Regions from separate parts of the Homo sapiens genome. Here regions 1 and 3 are each linked to region 2. The links are contacts of gene promoters, found by promoter capture Hi-C in blood cells and fetal thymus (Javierre and others, 2016). All regions are on one chromosome and are shown on one strand. Each heading gives the region's core, a stretch centred on a gene start or on the middle of the fragment in contact. The rest is flanking DNA. Distances are from core to core; before and after follow the strand shown.

Evidence for each region. The method cuts DNA at HindIII sites, captures the fragments that hold promoters and counts their contacts. A CHiCAGO score of 5 or more calls a contact.
Region 1: a fragment that was not itself captured here is called in contact with the fragment with the promoter of CCDC85A in region 2 in 1 of 17 cell types (M0 macrophages); the score reaches 5.4 in M0 macrophages.
Region 3: a contact is called between a fragment that was not itself captured here and the fragment with the promoter of CCDC85A in region 2, in 2 of 17 cell types (M0 macrophages and M2 macrophages). The highest score is 10.9, in M0 macrophages.

The regions. Positions count from the first base shown.
Region 1 is chr2:57,312,126-57,316,390 of GRCh38, reverse strand. No RefSeq gene overlaps it. Among named protein-coding and RNA genes, the nearest start is that of VRK2, 730 kb to the left of the region's middle. The HindIII fragment of the contact is 3,110 bases long and covers 1,353-4,265 here.
Region 2 is chr2:56,181,753-56,185,974 of GRCh38, reverse strand. CCDC85A (coiled-coil domain containing 85A) reads right to left here and starts at 1,985. Exons shown (of 6, transcript NM_001080433.2): 1 at 1,075-1,985. The coding sequence starts at 1,350. It overlaps LOC100129434 (a long non-coding RNA gene), which reads left to right and starts at 205. Exons shown (of 3, transcript NR_125368.1): 1 at 205-277. RefSeq lists a silencer at 1,986-2,315. The HindIII fragment of the contact is 6,654 bases long and covers 1-2,598 here.
Region 3 is chr2:57,353,524-57,357,439 of GRCh38, reverse strand. No RefSeq gene overlaps it. Among named protein-coding and RNA genes, the nearest start is that of VRK2, 690 kb to the left of the region's middle. The HindIII fragment of the contact is 1,948 bases long and covers 872-2,819 here.

The sequences.
Region 1 (4,265 bases), core at 1,658-4,157, 1.1 Mb before region 2:
TTAAGAGGGACTATAATAGCACTAAATGCCCACATCAGAAAGTTCGAAGCGAACAGCCTAACATCACATCTAGAGGAACCTAGCAGAAGACAAGAAATAACAAAAATCAAAGCTGAACTGAAGGAAATTGAGACATGAAAAACCATACATGAGATCAATTATTCCAGGAGCTGGTTCTTTGAAAGAATTAAAAAGATAGATGGACTGCTACCTAGACTAATATAGAAAAAAAGAGAGAAGATCCAAATAAACACAATTAAAAATATTGTCAATTTCTTAAAATCTTTATCCTCTCCACGTCGTATTTAGAATAGTGTCTATTGCCTTATATGCAGATGTAGTGTCACTATACAATCTGATTTTAATAAAATCCAGTACATTTTTAATTTCAGACATTGTGTTTAAGCATTTATAATTTCACTTGTGACTTTTTTATTGTTTCAGTTTTTTCTCCTTAAAGTCCATTTGTTCAACAATTTATGTCTGTCTTTTGCTTGAGTATCTTGTGAATATTTATAATAGTTGGTTAAGTTCCTTGGCTATTAATTTCAACATCTGTGTTATGTTTGGCTCTTCAAATTATTATCAGTCACAAAATCAACTCCACTCTTGTCAGAACTTCAAAGACTACTAGCATTTTGCAATCTCTGGTGTCTCACTTCAGCTTTTCCACTATGGTTCTCTAACATGGTCTTTTGCTCTGTTAGATTAGTATTTGGCTGAGTGAAAAACAACTAAAGGCACACATCTGAAACTCCTTCCCTGTGAATATTCCTCCATTCCAATGCCTGCAACTGCAAATTCCAATCACCTCAGCAGTCATGAACATTGATTTCTTTTTCTCCAACTAGTAAAACCACTGATCCCTTCATTTGAGCTCGACTTCCCTGCACTTAGTTTTGAATTTTTCCCCTGTCCAATAGTAAGGTAAGTAGTGTATAGCTCTTCTAATGTGTTTTAGTTTTTTGAATGATCAAACCACTGCATGATATGTTGTTCAATACTTGAAAAGTGTTTCTTCATAGATTTTGTTCAGTTTTATAAATTTTTATAGCATAAGTGAGACACTCATTGATTCAGTATGGCCGAAACCTTAATTTCAAGTAATAATTTTTCAAGCATTTATTATATGAAAATGTTTTTTATCAGTGTGTTAAAAACACAAATAAATTTCCTAGTCCCTACAACATATAAATTATGGATTGTTTTCCCAATGGTACAGTTAAAAAACTTGAGTGTCTATGGGCTTAAACTATCTAAGGTAATACAAGGTAAGTGGTTACTAAGTGTTGAGCTGTGTTTTAAATTCAGGTCTGTCAGACACCAAAATCTATTCTTTTAAAATTTAAGCTTATTGTTTGGGAATAGTTTATAGCCTACCTGTTTGTTTAATGAAATCTTCAAACATGCCTAATAGGTATGTTGTATTTAAAACAAATACTATCAGAGCTGTGCAACCTGTGCTTGAAGTAAAAATGCAGAGCACAGAGCCACATATATGCTGACTCTGCCAAACCCTCACCATTCTACTCCTGGGTGATGGAAAATTAGCTCTGCATGACTCCTAGTCATCTTTTCAATACAGTTTGAAACCATTGCACTATATTATGTGGCTTATGAGGAATCATTGAAGCTACTGTGGATATTTTATCTGTAGAAGACAGAGTTAAATGAAGATGCAATAGCTGCTTAAATAAGTTTTTAAAAGCCAAGGAGAGGATGATTACTTGGGGGACAGATTTTGAGGGCATGCAGTTGTGAGGTAGAGTTTATGTCAAGCTGCAGAGCATGAATCTGGATGTAATATAAGATGCAGGTACTGAGTTGATTTAAAAATCATGTAGCTATTAAATATTCTTTCCACCCACAGACACACACACAGAGAAGAACAACAAGAACAAGAAGAGAATTGCAATGATGTGAAGTAATGTATATGTTAATTAGCTTGAATTAGCTTGATTGTGGTGATTATTTCACAATGTACATGTATATCAGATCATAAACTTGTATATCTTAAATGAATACAACTTTTATTTGTCAATTATACCTCATTCGAGCTGGAAAAGTAATAAAATAATTCTGTTAGAATCAACTGGCTATGTAAAATTTGCAAGAAGCAGTATTAAATATTTTATCATCTGTAAATTGTATACTACATATTGTTTATATTGGTAAAATTTGTAATCAATTTATTATTCAGGATTTTCCAGAAAGACCCAATGAATAGTATATAGATATGTAAACAGATAGATACATAGATAGATAGGTAGTTAGATAGATAGGTAAATAGATAGATACATAGATCATAGAGAGGAGATTGATTAAGGGGATTCGTTCACATGACTATGTAGGCTAAGAAGTCTCATAGCATGTTGTCTGAAAACTGGGAAGCCAGGGAAGCTGGTAGCATGGCTGTTCAAGACCAAAACCCTTAGAATCAGAGAAATAATTGTGTAACTCTGAGCCCAAGGCCAAAAGCCTGTGAATGTGGTAGGAGCAGGAGGTGAGGGCATGCTCGTACAAGTCCAGGAGTCCAAAGAACAAAAACCTGGCATTCTGATGCCCATATCCAAAGGCCAGAGAAGAAGGCTGTCCCAACTTCAGAAAACAAAGAGTGAATTCTCCTCTCCACTGTGTTTTTGTTCTATCAGGGCTCCCAGCCTATTGGATGGTTCCTGGCCCATAGTGAGGTGGGATATTCCCCACTTGGTCCACCAGCTCACGTGCCATCTCCTGTGGAAACACTCTCACAAGACACACCTGCTAATACTGCTTTACCAGATACCTAGGCATCCCTTAATCTAGTCAAGTTGATATTCTAAACTTATTTATTACAGGTATATATTAATAAAAATGAATAAAGGCCATGTGAAGAGTCCAAATAAGATATGATCCTGAAAAGGACGGGTAAAGATGTAGAATTCAGATGCATGGCACAAGACGAAAACGAGGAAGACCAGATCAAAGCAAGTTACTGTGTTTCAGGGTAGTAGGAGATAGATAATCCTAGACTATCTGGGACAGATACTCAACTTAAAAGCTACCCTGCAGTCAGGGTAGGTAAGGAGCTTATACGAATGCAAAACCATCTCGAAGAATTGTGTAGAAGGAAATATTATACTGAATGATAAATGAGATTAACTTCTATAAGATTCTCAGTTATATATTACATTTTTAATACTTGAAATTAAGTCCATGGGTTCCTACTGGACTGTCAAGATATTTATCTCAGTAATATTTTGAAAAATTGGGACAATTTTGATTATCAGGTTAAATCAGATATTAAGTTAAAAGGCACATATTCTGCTAAGATACTATCAATCAAGCATATTTTAGAACTCCAAACTAAGAAAGTTGTGTAGTTTTAATTACTATCCACAAGATATTTTAATGCTGGGCCAGGATATCCTATAAACCAGAGTCCATATAAAATTCAGCTAGTTTTTGCTATCCTATTGAGCTCTGTGACTACTTTGTAAAAATAATCCAAGATCGAATATAGATTTGATCTTGCAAGGAATCAGAGAGTCCAGTATTTTAGCCATTTGGGTAAGCAAATGGGGCAAAACAATTGATGAGTTCCAGTTATATACTATAATTAATGAGTAGTCATAGCGACTAATATGTGTCAGCTTTCTCTTTGCTGGAGGAAGAAAAACTTAAAGAAGTTGGAAGGTCAATATATTCTTTATTGTTTATACATGCATATACATTATACTTGTGTGTGTATCTGTGTGTATACACACATATACAGATATATATATACACACACATATACAGATATAGATACACACACACACACACATATATATATATAAACTAGATCTAAATTCCAGAAATTGCAAGATTTTAGAAAATCATATTTTCAAGATAGGTTTTCTTTAACTTAGATCCTGGTAGTGAAAATACATTTGCAATCCTAAAAATACCATTAAACTAGTTTCATTAGGACTTAGAAATAGTTTGCAGCTCAAGTAGAAAAGAGATTAAACCTATGTCGTATTAATGAGTAAAATCTCACCTTGTTTATCTTTTGATGAAGTAACATAAATCAGTTCTCTCTCAGTACTGACTTTGAAAATGTATCCTTCATGTTTCAATCAACAGTCAGCCCTGAAATGAACTTATAGCTGCACCTAATTTATCTTCCTCAAAAATCTGGTTGTTGAATGTGTTGAATTCATTAGGCAATGAAAGGGGGGATGGGTACTTTTATTTTTATTCATGCATCATTACAGGACATGTAGGAACCTTAGAAAATTCAA
Region 2 (4,222 bases), core at 736-3,235:
GGATAGGAGTGGAAAGGGGAAAAGAACAGCTTGTGCCTTCGGGAATTTGCTCCCTGAAGTCCCTGCAGTGATTTCGTTTGTGTCTGGCTTCCTACAAACAAAGCAGAACAATGAGAGGAAGGAATACCAGGAGGCACCAGCGCTAGCTGGAAGGAGAGGAAGTTTGTGGTGCTCGCCAGCAGGGCGGTTCCCGGCCACTAGTGTACTGCAGCTGGGCAGGCACACTCCTCGCAGACCCGGCGCTCTCCAAGGAGAAAAGAAAGTTAGTGGGCTTGGGGTACGTTTCCCTTCTTTTCCTAGAAGAGGGTGGCAGGGGGGCTGGCTCAGAAAGAAACCATCACTGACCAACACTTGGGGTACTCTGTCAAAATGCTGCTCCTTCCATACTGAGTCTCTTTGCTCCTCCTCTTTCCCCCAGTCAACCTGGGGTTAAGTGGGAAGGGGAGTAAGGCAACTCCAGGGGATGCCTTCCAAACTCCGGGAGAGGGAAAGCACAGGAATTGGGAGAAGACGTGAAGGCAGAGCTTGAACTCCTATGTACCCGGTGACACAAGACTGCTCTGAGGGTGGCGCCCGCTGCTTCTCCCGGGCGCCCCGCCAGCCGCTCTCCCTGGCAGTGGCGCCCTTTCCTCGCCCTCTGCCCGCCCAAGAGCTGCTGGCCCAGAGCAGCCGCATTCCCGACCCTCCAAGGCGAAGATCCCCTGGATTCACCCCCTCACTGGCCTTTCCGCCTAACTGACTGAAACCCGGCTCCCCAGGCACAGATTTTCCAGCCTCCCTAAGAAATGAAAGGTTCGCGTGCCCTTCACCTCCCTCCCTGCTTTCCAGCGTCCTCAGCGCCTCCCCGAACAGCCAGACAGTGGAGCGCCCCGTGTTGGGGAGAGGAGGGGAGCAGACGCCTCCGAAGTTTGGAAAAGTTACACAGGGGCTGGGGACTGGGGGTAGGGGGTGCCGACCGGGAGAAGGGGAGGGTCACCTGTTGAGGGAGGGAGGGAAAGTTTGCCTGGCCCCGCCTCCTCCTCGGGGCACCCCGCTCCCAGCCGCGCCGCGCCTCCCCACCTGGCCCGCGCTCACCTTGAGGCCGCGGATCTCGCCGAGGTGCAGCTGCAGGCGGCGGTTCACCTCGCGGATGAGGTTGCTGTGGTCCAGCATCGCGCTCACCTTCTCCGCCTCGGCGCGCCGCAGGCTGCGGATCAGCTCCTCCTTGCTCCACTGCAGCAGCTCCTCGTCCGACACTTTGGACAGGTCCTCCACCGGCGCGGGCGGGGCCGCGGACGAGCCGGCCGGGGCTGGGGAACAACTTTCCGCCGCCGCCGCAGCCGCCGCCGCGCCTCCGGCCGCCTTCGACATGGTATCCGCGGGGTGGCAGGTGCAAGTGGGTGGAAGAGGCGAGGCGACTCCCGAAGGCGCGGGCGCGGCGAGGCCGCCTCCGCCCACACCCCTGTGCGCTCCGGCGAGTCAGCGGCACCGCCCAGGGGCCGCTGGGTTGGGGCGGCGGGGGTCGCGCTGGGTGGCCATCCTACCTCGCCATCCCCGCGCGCGCGCCCGCGCTCCCCCAGGGCCCGGCAGCCAGCCGCTTGCTGCTGCCGAGGCCCGTCCCAACTCCGCGCAAGTCCATGGTGAGGGGCACTGGGGAGCCCGGGGCTGCCGCGGGAAATCCTCGGGGACAGCGGGGGAGCTGCACCGCCGTTCCCCTGCCCTCTCCTCCGCCCTAAGCCGAGACTGTCGCCCCCCGCACTCTCTGCCCTGCACACAGGCGTGCACGCACACGCACTTTCCTCCCCCTTGCCCAGCTGCAGCCCCCGGCTTCTCCCCTCTCCTAGCTTGGAGGGCGCGCCGGGCACCGCGGCGCCTCCCCGGCTGCTCTAGCGACGCCGCCGCGGCTGCCCGAAGGCTGCTGCGCTCCTCCTGCCGCCTTCGCTGCGCCCGCGGCCGCTCCTAGGCTGCTCCGGAAAGCCTTCGATTTGCAGAGCGGAGTCGAGAAGGGGTGGAGGGTGGGGGACCGGCTGGAGGAGGAGCCTGGAGCTGGGGCCACCCGTAACCCGCAGCAGCTCCCGCATGGGCTGGACGCAGCTGCCACTCGACCGCTGCCCGGGCCCTCGAGGTGCGCTCCCGGCTGTCCTGCCCGGGAGGGCTGGGGGCGCGGCTCTTTCTGCGCCCGGGCGGGTGGGGCTGGAATGGGGAGAAGGTGAGGAGCTGTGGCCGCCCGGTCTTTGGGAGGCTCGCGCGCGCCACCGTGTGGCGGAAGAAGCTCCCTCCTCTGCCCTCTGCACACCGGCCTTGTCACCAGGCAGGGGAAACAGCTGCTGACCCAAATGCGAGGTGCTTCGTATTTGGAGGGATCGGGGATCAGGAAAGATGGGGTAGCAGGACCTGAGGGATAACCAGTTATTTGCACTTTGGAGAATGGGAGGAGAGGCAAATGGCAAAAACGGGGGTTGGGGAAAGGGGCAGCTTAAGAAAATCCAAATGGTCTGAAAAGGGCGAAAAGAGGCGTCAGGGCACTGCTCTTATGGGGCTACCCATCCCCACCCCCCACTCTCGCCCCACCCCTAGGCCTTTGTGTTTTCTAAAAATCCACTACTCTATGAAGAAGCTTCGGGAGAAGGTACTGGATCTTTTAAATTTTTATTTGAAAAATATCAAAGCCTTTAGGCGAAAATAAAATACCTTCATCTCCTGCTTCCTGAAACCTGGATTTTAAGGTCAGCACAGTCACCTCCCCTCGGAGCAAAGCAAGCCCCCTCAGGCAAGCTGAAATGCCAGCCAAGGAGATTTCCATTTTCTTCTATGCCGCAGGCTGCCAGGCGTTTACTGGGTCGGCTTTTTTATGATGGTTATTTCTGGAAGGAGGAAGTCTGAGTCCCTGGCTTCTATCTTTGGGCTATCCTCTTGTAAAGTTGGGTGGAATCGTCTCTGGGCTGAAAACATGCTTTTGCCTAAAGAGGTGGATGCCCTTGACCACCGCATGTTATTTCCAGTGGGGTACAGGGCCGGAAAATGGCAAGGATCTACCCCCACCGGGTTTCAGTTAACCCGGGTGCAGAGGGAATAATCTCTATCTGGTAGGATGATAATCAAAATCAGTCCCTTCACCCGCCGGTCAGTGCGTGTCCCCTATTGGGGACACTGAGACCTGGCTCCCGGGAGAGGCAAGGAAATGTGGTACTGCTTACGGTGACCAAATGGCCTTAACATTCCCCTCAGCTTAACTAAACTTTAGACAGGTTTCTTCCTAACTGTAGGCCCCAGACCTTCCTTTTCTCAGAGCATTTACTTTAGCCAACTTCCATTGGTGAATGTTTCCTCTGACCCTTTGACATGTAAATCTCTCCGCCTCTTGCTGGGTTTTACAGCCTGGGGATCTTTCTCAGGGATCTGTGAGGCATCCCTTTGAAATGTAATCATCAAGGAAAAAAGGGTCCCTATCTCCTAGTGTTTGTGGAGAGGAGGAGCCTAACTTTAATAAGTTCCAATTAGGAAACACAAATGGCCTCATTACACTGACCAACTTCCCATCCTAATCTCCTCCACTAGTCTTCTACTAGTTCCCCTCTCCCTCCCTCTCTCTCTTCCCTATTGCAATAGCCTTGAATAATTCCCCCTTGTCTGTTTAACTATATCGGATGCAATTTTTCTTTGACACCTCCAAGCCGCTCTCACGCCCACAGAAGGCTCTGCTCAACACAGTTCCTAAGACCAGTTTTGTCACAGAAAGGGAAAGTGAAGGTCAGAAAAAGATAAGTCCTATCTCTGTTACTTGTTAGTTCTTGTCCTTGAACAAACCATCCGACCTTACTGGCCCTCGGGCAGCTAATGATATGGTATACAAGAAGCGCTTGATCGAGCCACCCTACAGAAATGCAACCTTACTATTACTGATATTACATATTACATTGGGCAGCCTCTTGTCTAGAAATAGGAACCAGGACTTCTGTTTATTCCTCCATCACGGGTTCTTCAAGAGTCGTATTCTAAAATGAAACAGCCAGCCCCCTTCTCTGCTAACTCCCTCTGATCAGTTAACACCAAATAGATATGAGAAATCAGAGAGATGGCTGAGAGGAAAAATTAGACTTGTGTTGGGAAGACAAGGAAGAAGGAAAGCCAAAAAAAAAAAAAAAGTCTCCACAAATTATATACACTAGCAGTGGATTACAGTTGAGCTAGATCACCTTAAGGTTTTCATGTTTCTAATTTTGGTCATTGATTCAGAATAATA
Region 3 (3,916 bases), core at 596-3,095, 1.2 Mb before region 2:
ATTTTGTATATGCCTTCATTTGTGCCAAACAACTTTATCATGTCAGAGACAGCAAAAACGATTAATTTACTTACATTGCATTCAGTAAGTCATCAGGGGAGGATCTTATTTTTTTTCCATGTACAGAATTTCTAGAAAGTGCCTATTCCTCTAAAACATTTTCAGGTTTAATGAAATTTTGGTTATAACAACAATTTAGCATCGTAAAAGCATAATACTGAGAGCTGCTTTTAGAATTCATCAGAAATAAGACTTAGGATTTAGACAGATAATAAAGTTTTAAAATAATACTTGTGGCTAGGTATTATTTTGAGAATGCCAAGTAAGTGGCATCAACATTATTTAGATTCCTTCCATCTTCACCTTTCCTTCAGTGAAAGTCAGAAAACCAAGAGATATATTTACCTAGCTCTAAGTCTGTATTGATTTGTAATTTACAATGCTCAATATGAAACTAGTTATTACTATACAGAGCAACTGAAATTGTGTTGTCTGAAGCTATTAAGTACATTCTGCAGAAATAACATAGGCCCAAGCAAAGTTAGAAAGTCCTAGTTTATGGTGAGAACAAAAAATAATTTCTAACTCTCAGGGTAGCTCTCTTTTCACTCCATATTTATAACAAATGAAACTGGGAGCTTAGAAAGTGGACAATACCTCGTCATGCTCAGTGCTGTGGGGAACCAGGGATGCAACTGGAACAAGAGCTTATTGAAGTGTTTATTTATTTATTTTTCCTCTAGGGTATCCTTGTTTCTTTTCTTAACTAAACCATTAAGTTAAATTTGACTCCTTATCATAGGTTAGATATCAGAGAATGTTAAGAAACCAAGTACAACTGAAAAACTCTCCATTATTATAACGTTAAGCTTAGGGTAACCCTTAGAATAATCATACCCACCTGAATCCACTGACACTAGTCATTGCAGAAGCACTGCATTCAGTAGATTTACTTTCAGTTTTCAGGAGATAATAAAATTATAAATACAGGATAGCCTGCACATTGAAAGAAATGCAGATATTATTTTCCAAGTCTGAAAAATAAGGGTTTTTTTGAAAGTTAAATACAGATATTCCCTTAATAGCTTGAGTTTTCCAGTGTTGAAAAATTCAGTATTTAAAATTAAATTTTGATGTTTTATCTGTATTTTTACTGTAGAAAATTTACATTTTTTACAAAAATGATATGCAAGTAGTTTTTGCTGTTTAGTTATAATAATTATGGTTTGGTGCAGTGGCTCATGTCTGCAATCCTAACAGTTTGGGAGGCAGAGGCAAGAAGATTGCTTGAGCCAGGAGTTCAAGACCAGCTTGGGCAACATAGTGAGAACCTCTCTCTAAAAAAAAAAAAAAAAAAAAAAGTAAGTAGATGGATATGGTGGTGCATGCCTGTAGTCCCCGCTGCTTGGAAGGCTGAAGCAAGAGGATCACTTAAGCCTGGGAATTCAAGGCTGCAGTGAGCCATGATCCCACAACTGCACTCCAGCCTGGGCAATAGAGTGAAATTCTGTCTCAAAAAGGAATAATAATTTGACAAGTTAAAATGTTTTAAGCAGAGGAAATTGAGAACATTTCCACGTACTCTCAAGTCAACTGAATATCATAAAACCAAAGAGCATTTATTTAGATAACATCTCACATTTTTGGAACATCTGAGGTTAAATTATAGACATGTAGTCAAGTCCTTTCACACTTAACATCACTCTTTTCTCATTCTTTTTTCCTTACAAGTAGAACTTTACTTTTTCACTCTCTTTTTAAAATTTTCCTATACTACCAAATAGATATGAATTCCAAGATGATAATTATGCTTGCTAGTAATTTGCACTTACAAGATATGTCAGAGTATGTAAATGTGCTTTTTCCTCTGAAAGCCCTTTGACTGTCTTGCCTTCTTCTGAAAACTTTTTCTACTACCTCCTCAAAATGGAAAAAGCTAAGGTATCTGTCAAACTATTTCCAAAGAAAGTTCATTTGTATATATAGCTCGTAAAAGCAAAAGTGTATGCTGTACAAGAAGCAAAATGTACTTGAGTACTGTTCTCTAGGTATTTTCTAAGAGATTTAAACTCCATGCTCACTATGTGGGTAACAGGTTTATTCATATACCAAGCCTCAGTGACACACAAGTTACCCATGTAACAAACCTGCATCTGTACCCCCGAACCTAAAATAATAAAATAAATTAAATAGACAATAGATAGGTAGATAGATAGATAGATAGATAGATAGATAGAACTGGCAAAGGACATAAAGTTCACTGAGAATCAGATTCTCAGGAGTACATACGAGCTAAATTTCTTTCCAAAACACACAAATTTAAAATTTCCCTTGATAATATTTGAGAAATTCGGTTATTAAAACAGAGAAGCAAAACAGGGCATATAAAGTAGGAAAACTTAGCGGATTTATTTTAAAAAATATTGAATGCTACCTTCTCTAAGTGTAGAGTCATGTAAGAGGAGTAAATTCTGTTAAGATTACTCTATTTGGCTTTTCTTTACTAACTTTGGTTGTGATATAACCTAAACTTGCTTTTTAGCCTAGAGATTTTAACTGCGTCATTAATGTATTATCAGACATTAAAGGGTAAGAATAAATTACCTCAAAGGCCTTATAATTACCTTTCCCATCTTATACGTGCTCCCAACCTGGAAGTAGACAAACCAATGTCAATGTGATCATCATTGCCATAAGCATTCCAAAATAACTAACACTCTACCTTTCAGAAATACTGATTTCCCATCAGCAACATGTAGTTCTTTTAAAAACAAAAGGCATATTTTACTTTTTATTTCCAAATATAATCTCAGGAAGCTTTATATTTTAAGAAATTATTGTATTTGTTTCTTGGTAAATCTTAGCTACTTATTTCCACACTAGTATATATAGGTTGGCTTTCTAGAGAACATATAGATGCCTTAATCTTCCTCTCATCGCTTGAAATGCAAACATTTATGTAAAAGTTGGCATTTGTCAAGATGATCATAGAGTAAACAAAAAAAAAATGACAAGAAAAATAAGAGAAAATGGGATTAAATAAAGAAAATTGCTTCCTTCAACATTGAATCCCCTTGAAATTGTTGGAGCTGTATCAAATTGAGTAAGTGACTTCTTAACGTTGTATTTTTGATTTCACCTTACCTTGGAAAATGAAGAATAATTATTTACTATACTTGTACTTTTTTTCTTGATTGAATTATTTATTAATTTTTTTGCCTATTTATTGACTGAAAAACTAAGCAAAAATAACAAACCTGGAGACATCACACTACCTGACTTCAAACTACACTACAAGGCTACAGTAAACCAAACCACATGGTACTGGTACCAAAGCAGATATACAGACCAATGGAACAGAACAGAGACCTCAGAAATAACACCACACATCTACAACCATCTGATCTTCAACAAACCTGAAAAAAACAAGCAATGGGGAAAGGATTCCCTATTCAATAAATGATGCTGGGAAAACTGGCTAGCCATATGCAGAACACTGAAACTGGACTCCTACCTTACGTATTATACAAAAAATAACTCAAGATGGATTAAAAACTTAAATATACAACCCCAAACCATAAAAACCCTAGAAGAAAACTTAGTCAATACCATACAGGATGTAGGCATGGGAAAAGACTTCATGACAAAAACACCAAAAGCAATTTCAATAAAAGCCAAAATTGATAAATTGGCTCTAATTAACCTAAAGAGCTTCTGCACAGTGAGAGAAACTGTCATCTGAGTGAACAGGCAACCTACAGAATGGGAGAAAATTTTTGCAATCTACCCATCTGATAAAGTTCTAATACCTAAAATCTACTAGAAACTTAAACAAATTTACAAGAAAAAAACCAACAACCCCAACAAAAAGTGTGCAAGGATATGAATAGACACTTCTCAAAAGAAGACATTTATG